Linked DNA regions of Homo sapiens: all the other regions are linked to region 5. Evidence: promoter capture Hi-C in 16 types of primary human blood cells and fetal thymus (Javierre and others, 2016). All regions are on one chromosome and are shown on one strand. The core of a region is centred on a gene start or on the middle of the fragment in contact, and the rest is flanking DNA. Distances in the headings are between cores, read along the strand shown. Region 1 overlaps LOC105370003 (a long non-coding RNA gene). Region 2 overlaps LOC105370003 (a long non-coding RNA gene). Region 3 overlaps LOC105370003 (a long non-coding RNA gene). Region 4 overlaps LOC105370003 (a long non-coding RNA gene). Region 5 holds the start of TBX3 (T-box transcription factor 3). Region 6 overlaps LOC124903082 (a long non-coding RNA gene). Region 7 overlaps LOC105370003 (a long non-coding RNA gene).

The links. The method cuts DNA at HindIII sites, captures the fragments that hold promoters and counts their contacts. A CHiCAGO score of 5 or more calls a contact.
Region 1: a contact is called between a fragment that was not itself captured here and the fragment with the promoter of TBX3 in region 5, in 1 of 17 cell types (endothelial precursors). The highest score is 6.6, in endothelial precursors.
Region 2: a contact is called between a fragment that was not itself captured here and the fragment with the promoter of TBX3 in region 5, in 1 of 17 cell types (endothelial precursors). The highest score is 6.1, in endothelial precursors.
Region 3: a contact is called between a fragment that was not itself captured here and the fragment with the promoter of TBX3 in region 5, in 1 of 17 cell types (endothelial precursors). The highest score is 6.1, in endothelial precursors.
Region 4: a fragment that was not itself captured here is called in contact with the fragment with the promoter of TBX3 in region 5 in 1 of 17 cell types (endothelial precursors); the score reaches 6.3 in endothelial precursors.
Region 6: a fragment that was not itself captured here is called in contact with the fragment with the promoter of TBX3 in region 5 in 1 of 17 cell types (endothelial precursors); the score reaches 7.1 in endothelial precursors.
Region 7: a fragment that was not itself captured here is called in contact with the fragment with the promoter of TBX3 in region 5 in 1 of 17 cell types (endothelial precursors); the score reaches 7.1 in endothelial precursors.

What each region holds. Positions count from the first base shown.
Region 1 is chr12:115,648,409-115,651,108 of GRCh38, forward strand. All of the region lies in intron 1 of LOC105370003 (a long non-coding RNA gene), which reads right to left. Among named protein-coding and RNA genes, the nearest start is that of LINC02463, 240 kb to the right of the region's middle. The HindIII fragment of the contact is 1,065 bases long and covers 763-1,827 here.
Region 2 is chr12:115,625,024-115,627,723 of GRCh38, forward strand. The region is part of intron 1 of LOC105370003 (a long non-coding RNA gene); the gene reads right to left. The region is part of intron 2 of LOC105370002 (a long non-coding RNA gene); the gene reads right to left. Among named protein-coding and RNA genes, the nearest start is that of LINC02463, 260 kb to the right of the region's middle. The HindIII fragment of the contact is 2,150 bases long and covers 346-2,495 here.
Region 3 is chr12:115,403,398-115,406,097 of GRCh38, forward strand. All of the region lies in intron 3 of LOC105370003 (a long non-coding RNA gene), which reads right to left. Among named protein-coding and RNA genes, the nearest start is that of LINC02463, 480 kb to the right of the region's middle. The HindIII fragment of the contact is 2,264 bases long and covers 208-2,471 here.
Region 4 is chr12:115,440,972-115,443,671 of GRCh38, forward strand. All of the region lies in intron 2 of LOC105370003 (a long non-coding RNA gene), which reads right to left. Among named protein-coding and RNA genes, the nearest start is that of LINC02463, 440 kb to the right of the region's middle. The HindIII fragment of the contact is 3,747 bases long and covers 1-2,700 here.
Region 5 is chr12:114,682,790-114,685,489 of GRCh38, forward strand. TBX3 (T-box transcription factor 3) reads right to left here and starts at 1,386. Exons shown (of 7, transcript NM_005996.4): 1 at 23-1,386. The coding sequence starts at 411. The region is part of intron 1 of TBX3-AS1 (TBX3 antisense RNA 1); the gene reads left to right. RefSeq lists a promoter at 1,388-1,897. The HindIII fragment of the contact is 4,535 bases long and covers 1-2,700 here.
Region 6 is chr12:115,341,578-115,344,277 of GRCh38, forward strand. The region is part of intron 2 of LOC124903082 (a long non-coding RNA gene); the gene reads right to left. Among named protein-coding and RNA genes, the nearest start is that of LINC02463, 540 kb to the right of the region's middle. RefSeq lists an enhancer at 1-491. The HindIII fragment of the contact is 3,543 bases long and covers 1-2,700 here.
Region 7 is chr12:115,664,930-115,667,629 of GRCh38, forward strand. All of the region lies in intron 1 of LOC105370003 (a long non-coding RNA gene), which reads right to left. Among named protein-coding and RNA genes, the nearest start is that of LINC02463, 220 kb to the right of the region's middle. The HindIII fragment of the contact is 1,184 bases long and covers 794-1,977 here.

The sequences.
Region 1 (2,700 bases), core at 45-2,544, 970 kb after region 5:
ACCACCACTTAAATTTCAGTGGGCAGAACATGGCCACACTTTGCTGGAAGGAAGTCTGGGAAATGTCTTCATTCCAGCTATCTATTGTCCAGCTAAAGATGGAGGTTCTGTTACTAAGACAGACAGAGAAAACAGGCAGGGCCACATTAACACCAATCTACCACAGGTGTTCAGCTATTCCACGTTGCCCCAAGCCAGGATATCTCTATAACCATTACACAAAAACAAACAGAGACCAAATTTAAGTTAAAGATTGCACAATGCACAATCAGGCAACTCTGTTTATTCATCCATCCATTTGTTCACTCATTCAACAAATATTTATGTAGCATCTGTTTTAAGCTGGGCACAGGGCAAGATACAAGATACAAGAACTGAAAAAGAATATGAAGCAAGAAATGAGTTGTCCTGCTTGATCCACACAGATGTAATGAGAATCCAGTGATAATGGGGTTGGTGTATAAACTGTTAATGGATGACGTTATTGGAGCCTGAATGTTGGTCCTCTAGCGCAAATGCCCTTGCTTTACCATGCAGGCCTTTACTGCTTTGTTTCTTATATAAATATACCCTCAAAGGACAAAACAGAGTTTCTAATCTCAAGAAAATGTGTGTATGTATACTTTAGAAGTAAAAAATTTTTAAAATTTTAAAAAGAGTTTCTAATCTCAAGAAAATGTGTGTATGTATGCTTTAGAAGTAAAAAAAAAAAAAGGCAATTTCAGTGAAAGAAAAAAGAATATGAAGTTTGAATTCTTCACAAGCTTACTCCTGAGGTTATTTTAAATGAAACAATGTATCACTTAATGAATAAGTATCATTACATGTACCATCATGTATCACAAGAAAGCACCAAGAATCCAAGAATAGAACAATATAGACCAGCAGTTCCAGTAAAGCCTGCTTTAGTCACAGATGTGAGGTTGCAGAACTCTTCCCAGGTCTTCAGACTGGGCCACCTAGAGCTCATCTTACCAAGTAAACTTCAGAGTGTGGCCTGCTCTGCCCCCTCCCCCAGTCATGTCCAAGGTCAGAATCCAGCCAGGGGCCTCAAACAGGCAGAAATATTTATGCCAACTCCAGAATACCAAACCTAAGAGACAGAGCTGATGCCACTTGAAAGGAATCAGGGCGGAATCTCCAGAGATTAAGAAAATGACAGTGACCAAGTTGCAAAGGGGAAGGGGGTGAGAACAAGTGGAGATTAAAGCAGCCGGGCCATTTGTTATTTTGATTTATGCTTTTTTTTATTTTAAAGGGAATTAAAGAAGATGAATTAAGACTTCATTAGATGCCGACAACTTCAGGAAGATTAATCCATCTTCCATTTGCATTAAGACTCACAATCTCTCCAATCTCTCCAGGCCTAGGGTGAAGGAAAGGGAAAGCTATGGATACGTTTCTGTCTTCCCCACCCTGCACCCCCTACCTACCTCTCCCCTCTGGCCACTTTCCCTTTCATGTCTTTGTTTGACATATAGGAAAGAATCATGAGGTGTTGAGTATCATTAACTTCCAAACACCTATGAAATCAGTAGGGAAGTGCAAACATTGTGGACCCCGACCGTCTCTGCAAATGATCTATCCTAAAGTCCTCCCCTTTGGAGATGAAAAGAAATAGTTTGGCAGACTGACAGTCTCGGGGAGAGAGGCCTGAATGAACAGGCAGGGGACACGCAGAATAAATGAAAATATGATTGACTTCTTACCTCATTCCGGCTCACACATGGTTCTGAGCATTTAATAAACAGGTTGACACTCCGAGTTCCCCTCATTAGGTGAATGTGGAGACCCCGACTGTTATAAATCAGAAGGGCAGGTTATCAAAGCTTGTGATCTTTAACTGTGTCAGGGCGCCCTCGTGTCTGCTGAAATGGAGGCAGCAACCTGCAAGCTGCAAAGAATTAGCCACTATACCACGATTTAATACACATGCACCCAGGAGGAGGTGGGAGGCTGGCGCTACAGGCAGTTTTTCCAGGTACCCAGCACATGTGGCTGGCCCTCGGGCACAGTTTACCTGGGGCTGAATGGTACCTGGGGATAAAGGCGAGGGATGACCCTGTGATGGATCAATAAATAGACCTGTGTTTAGTTAGACTAGGATCAATGGAGGAAAAATCACTATGGAATGTTAGAATTCCCAAGCCAGAATGGGCTTTAGGAAAACCCTCTCATCTGGTGATTTCCCAGCCTAACTTCACATCAAAATCTAATGGGGCTGGGCGCCATGGTGGCTCATGCCTATAATCCCAGCACTTTGGGAGGCCTAGCTGGGTGGATCACCTGAGGTTAGGAGTTCGAGACCAGCCTGGCCAACATGGTGAAACCGTGTCTCTACAGAAAGTACAAAAATTAGTTGGGCATGGTGACAGGTGCCTGTAATCCCAGCTGCTCAGGAGGCTGAGGCAAGAGAACCGCTTGAACTCAGGAGGCACAGGCTGCAGTGAGCCCAGATCACACCACTGCACTCCAGCCTAGGTGACAGAGCAAGACTCTGTCTCAAAAAATATATACATATATATGTATTTTATATATATGTATTATATATATGTGTATATATGTGTATGTATATATATATGTATGTGTATATATATGTGTGTGTATATATATATAATGGAAAACTGATAATTTCTAATAAGGTTAAAAAGACTTCTACCCTGTGACCCTGAAATTACATCTCATGAGAAATGAATGCAT
Region 2 (2,700 bases), core at 171-2,670, 940 kb after region 5:
GCAGAGCCCAGTATGGAAGGCACCTGGGACCCTGAAAGACTGCATGGAGCAGGGTCTTCCCCACCCCTGCTCTGCCACCAAGCAAGCAACAAACTTGTTTTGAGTTAAGCCATGGACATTTTGAAGATTTTTGTTGTGGTGGTGGTTTTAGCAACTAGTCTATCCTGAGTAATAGAGAGGACAAAATTGTCCCAGAGTGAGAAGAAGAACAAATCGTTAGTTTCTGTAGACAGCCATTGTCATATTCTAGGAAACCAGAAACCATGTCAGAAGACACTCAAACAGCCCTGTGGAGAGGCCCATGTAGTGAGCAACTGAGGTCTCCTGCCAACAGCCATGGGAGTAAGCTTGGAAACAGATGCTTCAGCCTCAGTCAAGCCTTCAGATGAGATCACAGTCCTGGCCGACATCTTGACTGCAACTTCATGAGAGAACCTGCCAGATCCACCCAACTACTCCTTATCTGAAACCCTACCCCACTGTAAAATAGTAGGTATTTGTTGCTTTAAGTCACTAAGTTTTGGGATGACATGTTATGCAAAAGTAGATAACCGATACACTGCATTGTGGAGCAGGTTCCCACAGTGGCCAACTGGAAACTGAATCCTTTGGAGAACTCTGAAAGGCTGCATAGAACATGCTTTAAAGTTACGTTCCCTGAGTGGGGAAGAAGACAAGTATTTATTCTCTAACACCCATCCACTGTTGATAAAGGACTGCTCCTGGGGTGTTGATTCCCCAGCATTTCTACCCTGCCCTTCACTGAGTCCAAGAGAAAGCCCTCAGATGGAGAGTCTCAGGTGTTTGCATTGGCACCATAGGCATGTACTTGACAAGTGCAAAGAGAATATTGGTGAGGTATAGCAAGATCTGATACAGTATCATGTGTCCCAGATTTTCCAGATGAAATCAAATTCCCAAATTTCTTCTTTTTCCATAAAGGTGAGGCACTAAAGCTGTATAAGTAAAGAGGCTTCTTTTATGTACCTTTTGAAGATGTTTCATTAAAAATAAACCAGCAAATGAGAAGAATCCAGGGCTGGGAAGAGTGGAAGGTTTTTTGTTTGCTAATTCTCTTAATAAACTTACTAAGTAGTGCCATAAAAGCAGAATACAAAATAGCACCTTATACTGACATTGAATGTGCCACAGTACAATTAAAAAAATGGGGCCTTGCAAAATGGCATTTTTATATTGCCTCATAAAATATCTAATATCGAACTTTGTAAATTACATCAATGCCTTTGAACAAACATTGAGTTCTTTTTAATAAATAAAACGTTCAAAATTATTTCCTGGAAGTGCATTTTAGACATTAATAACTGGCTTCAAATGAAATTCTGTTTCACAGCGATAAGCAAATTTAATTGCTGCAAACTAAAACAGTCTGTAAGGCTTACCTGCTCCAGAAAGGAAACAAAATATTGAGCTAATGTAACCATCAAGATATATAACCTGCTACTCTTTGAATAAACCAAATTCCATCCCTAAACACAGAGAGCTCAGAAATTCAGACCCAAGGACATAAATATAAGGTATTTCCTGGAATTAGTTTCATATGTTTTATATATTGCAGTTATCAATTGATCTGACACAATATCTGAGCCAGTTTAAAAATTACATATTGTGCATCAGAAAAATATACATTTTCATGACATCTGGTACCCTGTGTTATAAAAGTATATACTCATTTATTTTAACTAAAAAAAGCACTATTTCCACATCATTAAAAATAATAGTAAGTTCAGTAGTATAAATCTCCATTCCATTTCTTACACCAGAGGTCAGTAAACTCCAGCCTGAGAGGCCAAGTCCAGTCCACCACTTACTTTCATATGTCCACAATCTAAGATTGGTTTTACATTTTTAAATGGTGGGAGGAGTTCAAAAGAAGAAGAGTATTTGGTGATATGTAAAAATTATAGGAAATTCAAATTTGGGTGTCCATAGATAAAATTTGATTGGCACTCAGCCATGTCCATTTACTTACGTATCATCTATGGCTGCCTTCACACTACAATCACAAAGCTAAGTAGTTGTGACAAAGATCTTATGACCTGCAAAGCCTAAAATATTTACTATCTGGTCCTTCACAGAAAAAGTTTGTTGACCTTTACTCCACACCACCCCTATCTCCTCTCTAAGGAGTTAGGAACTCTCTAAGGGAAGCTGTTAGGAACTCAAAATACTTAAAAGGGTAAACAGCAGTATTGGTTTTAGCCACCATTTACTACCTCAGGGTCTCCTTGAAGCCTGCAGTGGCCTAAGGAAGAAGATAGGAATGGCCATGGGATAAACTATATCCATGGAAACCCCCAACCTGAGTTATTTACAATCAGACAAGCATAATGTGTCTTTTCTTTCTCCCCAGAGTTGATGTGTCTGACTGAGCAAACTACATAAATTACTTTGACTATCAACTTCATTTAAGCCTCTGGAGATACAGATATCAACAAGCAGGAAGAATAAACATGGCATTAATAGGTAGGGTGGGAAGCTTGTACAATGCAAATCCTTTGGCCTTCACTGTTTATTACAATCAGATTTCTAAGCTTGATAGAGCTAGTTTGGCCCTAATTCACCTGAGATCACTTTTTGAAATGATGCTATTCAACTTTCTTTCAAAAAACTTTATTTTTTAAGTTAGAAAACCTCTTAGAGTTTATTATTGAAAATGTACAAGACAGCTGGGCGTGGTGG
Region 3 (2,700 bases), core at 90-2,589, 720 kb after region 5:
ATCTCAAGGTTCTTATCTTCATCACACACACAAAGGCTCTTTTGTCATGTAAGATAACACAGTCACAGGTTTCGGGGATTAGGATGTGGACATAGTTGGGGGCCATTTTCGACCCACTATGTCTTATTTCCATTGGTGAATCCTGGTGGAATACTTTGCTCTAGACAGTGCTAGGGTATATACAGATCCTCTAAGAGGTCATCTTAAAGCTTTGACTTCAGGAGTCCTGAGAAATATCTTCCTAAAACTAAAAACTCCCCCAGAGACCAATTGATTTGATTTAAATCATGTGGCTGATTGTTTTCCGAACACAACAATATTTTCCATTCTATATGCTCTTCTACAATATGACCTTGCACCCTCCCATCCAGCGGTTGGGGTTTGTGTTCCCATCCTTTAGACCTGGGTGGGCTGTGACTGTTTCGACCAGTAGAGTCTAATAGAGTATGGCAGAAATTATATTGTGTAACTTCTAAGGTTTTGACCAGTAGAGTCTAATAGAGTATGGCAAAAGTTATATTGTGCAACTTCATAAAAAGCAATACCGCTTCTGCCCTGTCCACTAAGACACTTATGCTAGAACCTCAAAACACCATGTAAGAGTTCCAACTAACCCTGAGGCTGCCACACTAAGAGGAAGCCCAGGCCACATGGAGAGGCCATATGTAAGTGCTAAGCGATGGCATTTTTAAGTGATCCCAGTTCCTGTAAGTAAATCTGCCTTGCAGATTTCTGTAGCAGAGAATTCCAAGCAGAGGGGGCTGTAGTGCAAAGGTCACGAGGTTGGAGTGAGCTGTTCGTTTTGAACAGAGGAGTGCCATGGTCTGGTTTAGGATTTAACAGGTCCTGGGAGCTGGGATCACCTAGAAATCCCTTCGCTTAGCACCTACATATCCCAGCCATTGAATTATGTCCAGATTAGACCTTAGACATCTTGGAGCAGAGAACACCTGTCTGCACCTTCTATCAAAACTTCTGAGTCACAGAATCTGTTACCTAATGAAATGGTTGTTTATACCATTAAGTTTTTGGACACTTTGTTACACAGCAAAGATAACTGGAACAAAGTGGATCTCTTTGGAATGCAAATGTCTATCAGTATGAGAAATATAAACAATCAGAATTGCAGAGTATATATTCACTTGTTTATTTATTCACTTACTCTCTTACATCCCCGTTTATGAACACACGCATGCTCTCCTAATTTATTCACGTACTTATCCAAAAGCATGATAAATTCTCACTATGAACAGAGATACCCTCTGAGAGTTCACTTGGCAATGGGGATTCATTCATTCATTTCATAGATATTTATTGCCTGGGAAGTGTTCCTCAGAGATGTATCAAAATAGGAACAGACTTTCTTTCCTGCTTTGGTTGGAAAAATCCCAGGGAAGGCACCTCATTGGCTCTGTTGGATGGTGTGTCCAATGCTGTACCCATCACCCAGCCCAAGAGGGTGGGGAGCTAGCATGGACAGCCTCTATTCAAACCATATGTTTAGAGAGGAGGCAGGAGCAATTTATCAAAGGATCACCAGTCCCTGAAGAAGTGAGGGCGCTGCCAGGTCAAACAACGGCTGTCCCCTACGAAAGACCTGCCTTGCCTGTTCTCCATTGACATCATGCACCACCTTCGGCAGCTACTAGTGTTTATCCATCTGCTTTGGCTTTAACTACCAAACTCTAGAGGCATTTCTAATACTCGAAGCAGCAACTCGGATTTTTAAAAGCTGCTGCTTGTATCATTTACCGTAAGATCAGCCAGGCTGTAAAACAGCATCCGAGGCTTCCCAGAGGATGAGGGAGGACCAGAGGTAAAGAAACTCTTATTTCCCTAGGCAAGTCAAAATGTTAACCCTCTGATGACCCAACTCTCTGGTGCACCTCTGCTCTGCAGATTACATGAAAAGAAACCTATTCTATATCTCAGTCCAATGACATCATGGGAAATACCAGGAATTTTTTGGCTGCACACAAAATTCCTGTGAGATTCTTGGAAAATCTTACACAAAACTGTGAGTAACAGGGACTTAGTAACCTCAAGTCATCTTAATCAACACCAGGCGATAAAAGGAGAATATATTTTGAAACCAGGCAGATCTATATTTGAATCTCCTTGTTCTGCTATTTATCAGCTATGTGAACTTGGGCAAGTTACTTTTCTCTAAGGCTCACTCTTTCCATCTTTAAAATGGGCATTATGATGCTCACTTCAACAGTTTCCAAGGGCTGATATGAAAGAATTAAATCAGTTAATGGATGGAAATGTGTGTCACAAGGTCTTGCACGCATCTCGGTTATTATGATTGTGTTGTTGCTATCACTTTTGCTAAGTCATAAAGCTGCACGTCTTTTCTGACATGGGATTTAGGGGTATCCCAGGAACAGAAAAGAAGGCTGTATGATGCGAGAAAAATCAAAGAACAAAATGATATATTGTATATCTAAATATGGAAGTAAAAACAATAAAGCTTCTAGAAAACACTATAGGAGAGTTTTTTTTTTTAATTTTTATTCAGGCAGGGAATGATTTCTTAAACAAAAACAAAAGACAGTCCCCAAAAATCAAATTTAAAGGAAATATATGTGTGTGTGTGTGTGTGTGTGTGTGTGTGTGTGTGTGTGTGTATGTGTATATAAAATACGAATTTCTGTTCACAAAGACACACTATTAAAACAGTGAAAAGTCAAGTAACAG
Region 4 (2,700 bases), core at 67-2,566, 760 kb after region 5:
CCCGAACTCTAAACTATTTGAAATGTAATTTCCATGACATTCCTTATAAATATCAATTATCACTGTTCCGAAGGAGGTATTGCCTTCTTAAAGATGAAGAAATAGGCTTAGAGGGGTGACATGAATTGCCCAGATTCACAACAGCTAGGAAGCTGTCCATCTAAGAATAAAATCTGAGCTTATTCCTTGTCACTGGGCTCACATTCAAAGCCCATGAGACTTCACAAATCAACATGTAAAACTATAAGTATTAACACTTCTTAAAATTCTGGACATTGGAATTGTTGGGAACTGTGATGGTTAATACTGCATGTCAACTTGATTGGATTGAAGGATGCAAAAGTATTGATCCTGGGCGTGGTCTGTGAGGGTGCTGCCAAGGGAGATTCATATTTGAGACAGTGGGCAGGGAAAGGCAGACCCACCCTTAATCTGGGTGGGCACCATCTAATCAGCTGCCAGCATGGCTAGAATATAAAACAGGCAGAAAAACGTGAAAAGACGAGACGGGCCTAGCCTCCCAGCTTACATCTTTCTCCCGTGCTGGATGCTTCCTGCCCTCAAACATCGGACTCCAAGTTCTTCAGTTTTGGGACTCAGACTGGCTCTCCTTCCTCCTCAGATTGCAGATGACCTATTTTGGGATCCTGTGATCATGTGAGTTAATACTTAATAAATTCCTATATATATGTAACTAATAGGATATATATATATCTAGTTAGTTCTGTCCCTCTAACTAGTATATATCTAGTTAGTTCTGTCCCTCTAGAGAACTGACTAGTCAGTTCTGTCCTCTCTGTCTCTCTCTCTCTCTCTCTCTCTCTCTCTCTCTCTCTCTCTCTCTCTCTCTATATATATATATATATATATATATATACACATACACACACATATGTAGATATCCTATTAGTTCTGTCCCTCTAGAGTTCCTGATTAATACAGGAACTATCATTATATTTGTCCTTTATTTTTCAAATTTATCAAAAGGAAAAACTTGTGGCAGTAGCCTTGCAGCTAATAAAAACAACAGCAGTGCATACCAGGTATTTGAATGACTATATGACATGCAATACTTCTCTCAATGTTCAGACCCATGCTATGAAGTCAAGGCTACTGTTGTTCACATTTTACAAATTAAAAAATCAAGACTCAAAAAGATCTGACACTAGAAAGTGGCAGGGCCACAATTTAAGGTGAGATCGATCTGACTCCAAAGCCCTCAGGGAACACAGCATGGTTTTTAGTGACTGTCCACACTGTGTGCTTCGTTCTCCTTGGGCTGAAGTCATGGAGACAATTGCAACCAGCAGGAAGAGCATGGGCAAGATACCACCACCTGTGCCCATTGCCTTTCTTTCCTGCAGAATCACAGAGCTTTTATGCAGCACCAGCCAAGAATCCCAGGCTCTCAACTTGGTCTTGGAAAGAGAACAGGCTTTTCCCCAACCCTTTCAGATCTACGATGCTTCTGAAACCTCAGGCACCGAGGAAGGTCACTTGGACAAAGCTATCCACCAAGCCCTTACAAAAAAGGGTGCACCAGCATTCACGTTGCAGCAGACAGCAATCATCTTAAGCTGTTGCAAGATCAAATTGCTCTCCTGCTTAGAGCATCTCCTTTTTTTTTCATCAGATCCAAACTCTTTATGCAGCCCCTGCTGATTTGCCCACCCCAAAATTCCCACCCCTGTCTCCCTTCCTGGTCATCCCAGCCTTCCAGGTGCTGCCCGAACACCCCGCACTCTCCGTGGGCCTTTGTGCTGACTGTCCACTCTGTCTGAAACACTGTTCTCCCCATTCTCCACTGGTTCATTTCCTTCTTAGGTCTGATCAGGTCAGTAGAAGGGAACCACATAAGGTTTCAGAACAGAAGATGCCACAGGGGAAAAGACTCACTTTTACTGAGTACCTACAATAGAGCTGGCAACATATGGCATTTAATTCAATCCTCTCAACCACCTTTTTCGGTCGTTTTACAGAGAAGAAAACTGAAGTCTAAAGAGGCTTTGTCCTTGCCCAGGGCCAGACAATTTCCAAAGGTGGAGGTGAGATTTAAACCTCTGCTCATGGTCCGCCCTGTTCCTTTTTCCTCTCCATGCCCTTGGTCAAGGCCCTTTGAGTCATGAGCTTGGAAAACTGATGAAAACTCAGCTCTGGGGCAATTCAATTGTCTGCTTGGAGGCTGGCAGCCTTCACAAAGCATCACTAACCTCCCAGGAGGCAGAATACACCAAGGGTTTGAACTTCTCGTGCAGCTAGCCAATTTGCTGGAGAATAAAAGAGCAAAAGCACCTAGGAGCATAAAATCAACCAGTAAATCTAGGGATTAAAAGCCTCTTAGCAACCCTGCTACCTGTAATTACAGCCCCCAACAAAGAGGAACCCTGGCAGATGGAGGATAAGGAAGAATCCAACCAGTAACTGGCATGGGAGTCTTGCCAAGATGGTTTATGGCCCTACCTTGTGTCTTCCCAAACAACCTTCTGCCTGATCTCTATCAACCTCAGGCCCCAAGGGCAGCTGTGCTCCCATGTTATCTACAGATCTGCAGCACGGGGCTCAAGAACCAAACAAGGCTTAAATTCCCACTCAGGACTATTTGGTGGATTAAGGTGAGACTCCCAGACATCACTTGGGGGCCTGAAGGGAAGTCCACAGAGCACAGAAAGTGTGTGATCTTTGATGGAATTGTCATCTCAC
Region 5 (2,700 bases), core at 136-2,635:
GGAGGAGGCCCCCACTGCTTACCTTCCCGACTTGGTAATGACCATCTCGGTGCCCCGCTTGTGAAACTGATCCCAAAGTTCTTTAGCCTCCAGGTGCACCTTGGGGTCGTCCTCCACCTCTTCTTCGGGCTCCATGGTCTTCAAAGGCCTCAGATGCGCCTGGGGCCCCAGGGAGGAGAACGGGATGCCGGTCTCGGCCGCCCCCACCAATTGATCCATGATCGGCTTGGCCAGGGCGCCCGGCAGCGAGAGCGCCGCCGCGCCGTTGGGAGGCAGCGTCAGCGCGGGGAAGAACGGCGGCTGGTGACCCAGCACCGCGCTCATGGCGAAGTCCGGCGCCCGGTGAGGTAGGAACGGATGGTAGGCCATGCTTGTCCCAGGAATGACCGGATCTCTCATGGAGAGGCTCATCCACTCCAGGCGGGGCGCTGGGCTCCAGCCGGGGACAAGTCCGCAGCTGCTGTGTTTTGTTGTTTTTTTGTTGTTGTTTAACAGCAGCACATAATTCAAAAGGGGGGAAAAAGCAAAACAAAAAAGAAAGAAAAAAGAAAAGGAGGCAGAAATCACAACTAATGCACTTCAAAGGGAGGAGGGGAAGTGTCTTTTGGAGAATGGGAGGCCGCTTTTAAAGAGGGCAAGGCGAAAAATCAGCAAACATAGTCGCGCGGGTGACCGTCCTTGTGCCTTGCGTTTTTAAAAAGCCGCTCCTGAACGTCGGTTTCAGAAGCGAGAGGAGCGAGCAGGGTCTCGACTCGCGCCCGAGCCCTGCCGCTGAGCTCGAAATAGACACTCCAGCCCTGCGTCCCAGGAATCTCTCTCCAGCCCCTAGGTCTTTTGTTGCAAATGTGAAAGGTTCTCCTAGAAGACTTTTTACCTTTCTTTTTCTTCTTCCCCCGCCCCCTATCTGTCTTCCTCTCCCTCTTTCTCGCTGGTGGCGTCTGCAGCTGTGCTAGACCCGGCTTTAACAGGGAGCGAGAGAGCGGAAAAAGTCTCTCTCCTTTAAAAAAAAAAAAATCTGATTTAAACCCCCTTCTACCAGCGCTATCAAAACTTGAATTGCAAACTGGCTTCCGTTCGCCGCCCTCCTCCTCCTTCCTCTGCTCCGAGCCTCCGGAGGGTGTCTCGGTTTCAATCCAAATCTTGCTGGGCTCTTCTCCCGTGCCTCTCTCTCTTCCTTGTCCTAAAACGTGAGCGAATTCGCTTCCTAAATCTGTGTCCAGGCGCGCAGGGCAGGGAGGATTTAGAGGGGGAAAAAATGGAACAGAGGGAAAGAGAGGGAGGGGAGAGAGAGAGAGAGAGAGAGAGACGGAGTCGGAGAGGGAGGGAGCGAGAGAAAGCGAGAGCTCCTCGCCACCCTCCGCCGCCTCTAGAATTCACCGGGCGTCTGCTCGGCGGCTCTAGAAGGTCGGGCTGCGCTGTGGGCTGCGGGGAGCCGGAGGCCTCTTGATTGGCTCTTTGACGCTTTCGGACCAATTGTGTTGCTGCATAGGCGTGGTTTTCACAGGTCGAGTGCTGGGGGATAGAGCTGAGTTATAAAAAGAAGGTGTCGGAAACTGTAACGTCGCAGCGCCGCATCGGTACTACTGCCTGTCCTGTGAATATGTCAACATGATCAGAGGGCGGGCGGGAGCCACTGGGGAGCGCGCGCGCACAGAGTCGCCTCTAGGTGGCTTATCGAGAGATCGCTGCAGCCCCTGAGCTCGCTCGCTCGCTCTGGTTCAGCCCACGTCTGAAATGCCTCAGTCATCCAGCCGGGGATCGAGGGAGGAGGCAGGGCCAAGGAGGAAGGGGGAGGGAGAGAGGGAGGGAGCCAGCGAGCAGGCGAGCCGGGCGGGGAAGGCGGAGAGCGCGCCCGGGCGCCGGGCAGGGGCGCTCGCCTCTCTTGCACTCCGCTCGCCTCTCCGACCGCCGCGGCCGGTTCTCTCTCCAGCTCTCCTTCTTCTCCCCGCCCCGGGCGAGCCGGGCGGGTGGCCGAGCCTCCCCGCGAGCTGCCATCCGGCCACTCGGTTCTACAAAAGCCGGCGGCAGCCGAGAAGCGAGCGCCGAGACTCCAGGCTTGCGTGCTCTCCAGCCCCACGTGGAGCCAAGCTCCGCCCGGCCGCCGCTGAAGGGCTCCCGAGCTCGGGTGTCTCGGTGCTGGTCTCCCCTGCGTCTGGGCTGGGGGAGCACAAGGATGCGGCCATATCTCAGCACACGCATGTGTGGGCTTCCTCTCCACTGCGCCCCACCCGCAGCCATGTGCGGGTACCCAAACACCCCCGGTGTATCTGTACTCGAACACGCGCCAACACACTGGGACTGAAACACACACCGAAAAACACGTACACACAAACACGTACACAGCCTGCGCGGCTGGCCCTGCCTGAGCTCCTGGGGAAGATGGATTTGGGATTTTTATGAAATGCATTTACCAGCCCTTTTGGATCTCGTCTTTCATTTGCATGCGGGCCCCCATATTCCACCTGGATGTGGGTGTGGGTGTAGAGAAGAGAATGGAGGATCTGGACAAAGCGAGCACAGCGAGAGACTGGGTTCTGAGCCTGTCCCCTCCAAGCCGCTGCCCTCACCTCGAGGCCCGGCTGGGTGCACAGCACAGGGTAAGGGGTGGGCGATTGGGTTGGGGGAGGCGCGCCAGCCTGGTATCTTCTCTAGGCATCGCACTTATCTCTCGGTGCCTCAGTTCTTTCTCCACCCCGGGGA
Region 6 (2,700 bases), core at 107-2,606, 660 kb after region 5:
CACATGCTCATCCCCGAGTCATTAGAGAATGGAAATCATGAGCAAGATCTGGCTCACACCCAGGGAGTGACAAAGCATGTCCAGAAAATCAGGGATTCCCCTTCTGCCAAGGAGGCGCGAGTGGAGACAGCCAATTCTCCATGGTCAGGAGGGGGATGTTTCAAAGCTCCAGGCCTCTGAGGTTGGCAGAACTGCATGTTGTTTTGGGAAACTGTGCATTGCAGCAATTGTGAGAGAACAGAACTGTCTTCGAGGCAAGAGAAATAACAGAGCTGAAATAGACCATGCAATAATGGTGAACTGTAATCTCAGGTTTCATTGGTGCCATGATCTTAATTATAAATAGTATTTGAAACCCATTTTTCTCCCTCTTTAATGATAACAACTAAGTTTGTTAAGTAGTTACTCTGTTTTAGGCACTGTCCTAAGGGAATTAGAATACTATAAGTATTTTGGACAACAATTTGATCCTCAGGACAACCCTTTTGATAGGATTATTGTGATCTTCACTGAAAATTGAAGAAACTGAGTCTCAGAGGCTAGACAAGGACTTTGTTACACAGTTAAGAGAGTGTGAATCCCAGGCTTTGTGAAAGATTAAAATAAGCACAAAATAAATGCATGTTACAAATCATTACTGAAAAGGAGCAAATGCATTTAACCTCAAAGTTAGCTCGCAGTTTCTGAACGTCAAGAATCTGGAAGCAGCTTAACTGCATGGTTCTGCTTCAGAGTCTCTCATGACATGGCAGTCAAGTAGTCAGATGGGCTGTCGTCTCATTTGAAGGCTTGACTGGGGGAAATTCATTTCAATGCTTATTCATGTGGCTGTTGGCAGGAAGTCTCAGATTCTCACTATGTAGGTCTCTCTTCAGGGCTGCTCCCAAAATAGCTCCCCCCACCTGCCCCCCACCCCGCCCCCCACCATGATCAGTTGAAAGACAGAGAGGAGAGAAGAGAGCAGGGAGGAGGGAGAAGGGAGGAAGAAAAAAGGAGAGCAGGAAAGGGGGGGATGGGGGAGAGATAATATACCTGCAATTTCTTTTGTTATCTAATCTCAGAGGTGAAACACCATCACTTCCGCTGTATGCCATTGGTGAGACCAACCCTGGTATAATGTGGGAGGGAACTACACAAGGATAGGACTATTAGAAACTGGTTACCATAAGAATACATCTCTCCGCTAGAAAATCTTTGTGGTCTTCACGTGAAACAACACACCAAGGACCTAGTATCCTTTATTTTTTTCTCTCCATCCATCACTCCGACCAATGTCAAATATATACAATTGGAGGGAACATTTCTTGCCAAAGAATGAGGAGCTTCTATGTTGATTCTGCATGGGAATATCACCCGATAAACTTTGTTCCTGTCAACTCAGTCTCCTTAACAAATAGGCAGGTAGCATTGTCTTCCCTTTTACCACCTTGAATCAAGGATGCTGGTTATTCTAACTCCAATTCCATCTCGAAGGTTAATTCTCTACCTTGCTCTGCCCTCTTTGTGATGCACACAGACTATGAAACTCATGTTCCCTTACCCCGGCTTTCAGTTGGGTTTGACCAATGATAAACACCAGCAGAAGACTGAGGGTGGCAAGAGAGAGAGCTTGGGTATCAATGCCTCTACTCCCTCTCTGCTTCTGTATTATATATCTGAAAGGGTTTGTGGCTCCCCATGTCTACATCACTCACTGGGTGACCTCACCTCCATGGCTCCAGCTTTCACTGGACTCCAAGGGTCCTTTTCCTCCCACTGCCCCTTGTGTTCCAGGGTTGGTGACAACTTCCTGCTGTTAGAAGTCCCTGATGGTGCTTCATCATCCATTTCTGGTTCTCCTAACTCAGCTCACAATTCTGTAAATAGCCCTTATGGAAATGTCTCTCAGTTAAACAGCTGAACGAATTTTTTTTTTTTCTGCTGGGATCCTGGCTCCATAGACAATGAAATGGGCTCTGACTCCCACACCTTTGTTTCTTCACACTTCAAGACGATCCTTTAAACATGTATAAGTGTACAGAAGGGCATAAGGCTCACTTTCGTAAACATGGGATTTGAGAAATCCCTCGAGACATATTATGGGGTATGAGGATTCACATGACCTAGGATTCACATGGCCCTGACCACCACATCAACCTCGCAGAGCCTTTTTGAATCATCAAAAGTTTTATGCATTTTAAATGTGGAATGCATGAACGTGGGCTTTAAGAGGATTTCCAGTGGATGATTACCTAGGGCACTGAAATGTGAGGAGCTTGTTGGCAGGAAGTCTCTTCCTCATCCCCCAAATCCCGCCTCCCTACCAAAACCAATCACAGTTTGCAATTTGAGTTATGTAACACTGTGTATGGCCTCCTCTTTATTATAATTTCCTCATAGGAATCTTTATTGTTTTTTCTTTCTGAGGAAAGAAGGTAGAGGAAACCTAAGTTTAAGAACATCCCTTCCTTAGACGAATAAAATGTAGTAGTCTTCTATTACTGATCGTGTCTAAGAGAAAAGAAAAATAGCAAAGCTGGCAATGATTTTGCAAATCACTCCCTCTTACATTCATTTATCCATTCACTTATACCTTCCGAGATCTGTACCTTGTGTTAGGGAGGTTCTGAGGGTGCACAAAGAAATCCGATGGGGTATCTTCCCTCAAGGAGCCCACAGTTAAGAGAAATTAAGCAGACAAGAGCAAAACAGTCAAAGTAA
Region 7 (2,700 bases), core at 136-2,635, 980 kb after region 5:
AATTAAAAATGGAACTACCATACAACCCAGCAATCCCACTTCTAAATATTTATCCAAAAGGATTGAAAACAGGATCTCAAAGAAATATTTTCACACCCATGTTCACTGCATTATTACTCACAGTAGCACAGAGGTGGAAACATTAATGAATAATTTGATAAAGTGTGGTATATACATACAATGAAATATCATTCAACCTTTAAAAAGAAAGAAATCCTGCCATATGCTACAACATGGATGAAGCTTGAGGACATTATGCTGAGTGAAATAAGCCAGGCACAGAAGGACAAATGTTTCATTATTTCACTTATAGGCAGTATATAAAATAGTCCACCTCATAGAAGCAGAAAGTCAAATGGGGAATGCTAGGGGCTGAGATGAGGGAGAAATGAGGAGTTATTGTTCAAAAGGTAGAGTTCTGGTTATGCAAATTTAAAAAGTTCTAGAGATCTGCTTCACAACAATGTACATCCTTTAACCATACTATACTGTACACTTCAAAATTTGTTAAGAGCATAGATAATGTAGGGTTTTTTTAAACCACAATTTAAAAAAGAAAAAAAAATTGCTAAGCCCATTACCAGGTCACCAAACTGAGTATTGTTCCATCTCATAATTTCAACCCATGTTGAAATTTTTCTGGTCCTTGAGAACACCCATGTTGGTCTCACCACTGGGTATCAGGATTTTGACAATGGTGTTAGGATTCACTGGGCTCCCTCTTCATCAAGGGTGCACAAACTCATCTTTCAGGGAATAATTCATTCCACAGGAGGGGACACCAATGGGTAGAAGCTTATGTGAAAGTATGAAAATTGACTCCCAGCTTCTGCTCTAAGTTGGAACCAAGCTGCCTAATAAAAGGAAGCGCTAGACTTTCACCTCAGCCTTTTCATGATGTTTCATGTTGGCCAGGAACACAGGCTCTGGGCTGTGGAATCGAGGGCGAGGCATGGCTTTCTGCTTCCAAACTATGTGACCTGAGCAAGTGACTTCACCTTGCTAAACCTCAGTTTCCTCATCTGTCAAACAATGACAATAATAACTACCATACAGGACAGTTGGGGACATTCAGTGACGTGATGTAAACAAGGCATTTAACACATCTGGTAGGCAATCACTAATCACTAATCAGGTTGCTAATCATTGTTGGCTGCAGGCTGCAACTATTGTGATTATCATGCTATCCTGTGGTTGAATATGTTTTACACAACTCTAGGCTGTCATAGCTTATGCATTCTGTGTCCAAGGCAGACACTGAAAGTGATGCCCATAATGTATCAAAGGGTTTAAACTGACTTCTGCTAGTATGAGTCTGTGGCTCTGAGCAATTTGCATAGCATTGTCCTTCAGGAACAAGTTCCAGAGCCAGGAGTAGAGGTGACCACTTTTTAATAGTTCATCCAACAATATTTACTGAGCCTGTGGTGCAGCAGTGAGTGCCTCTTAAGATGGAACATGACTTCCTCACTTTAGTGCAGTCCCCAATCCAGCCCAGCATACTTATTCTCCACTTGCCTGTCTACTATAAGCATTTTCAATGACTTCTGACCTAAGTTGTATTTTCTTCAATGCTTTTAAAGAGGTATGCTTTTCCCCAAATCCTTGAATAATACACATAAATGATGCTTCATGGTTTTATGTATTCCTGGTATTCTATATACACCCACTGGGAGTTCACATATCTCAGTTTGAAGGCGCAGCTAAAGGCAATTTTCTGTCTGCACAATTGACTCTGATAAGAGATACATGGTACTCTTCCTTCTAGGGAATACAAAGGAATCCCAATTTTCAACAACAGAAAAGAATTCAAGGGACTGTCGTTTCCCAGGTCACTGTAAGAAAGAGTTTTAAAACTATAAAGCTAATCCTCACCCCAAAAAAATCTCAAATCAGGTGATTTTTAAAATTTCAAATCCATCCTAAACATGTGTCAACTCTTTACTATCAGTCCACTCCTAAATGATGACAAAGTAAAGCTTTCAACTTTTAATGGCTTTTTGTTTTTGATATTCCTTTTCTTTCTCCTTAACCCAAATCACATCTTGCTTGGCAAAGACTTTTTATTATTTTTTATTTTCTTGATTCATAGGTCCTTAATGAAAGCAAAATTCAACCTTATATTGGTCTTGTATGAATTAGGGACCATGTAAACAGTACTTAACAGTTCTAATTGAAGGTCAGTAAATCCCCAAGAGATTAAATGAATCCTGCAGGGAGCCGTGTAAATCTCCCTCTCTTTTATGGCAGAACAGCCAAGCCCCCAGACTGCCTTGTGCAAGGCTTAATAAATATGGTATGCATCTAATCAAAACCATTTTGCACCCAAAGAGGTTAGGGGTGTAAATCACAATTACTCTTGGCACTAAACCCTTGGCCCAGAGAGGCCCAAGGTTGCCAAATACCATCAGGAGCTGACTTCTAGGACTTAGCTAGCTGTCTGGCATGGGTTTCCTGAGTGTCCAGCCTGCTTCTCAGCAGGGGAATCCAGATGGGAGTATAAAACCTGAAAAGGATAGTAATTTCAAATGACCCTCTTGCTCTCTCTGGTTTCTTTACTCCTTGCCAGCTCTGGCTTGATCAAAAAGAAATTATAAATTCATAGATGTCAATGCCTAGATCTGCCCTTGAAGTGCCATGAATTCATTCATCATGTCCAGACATGCACCATTTTAAAAGAAAATGGTGTAAAGTCCGAAG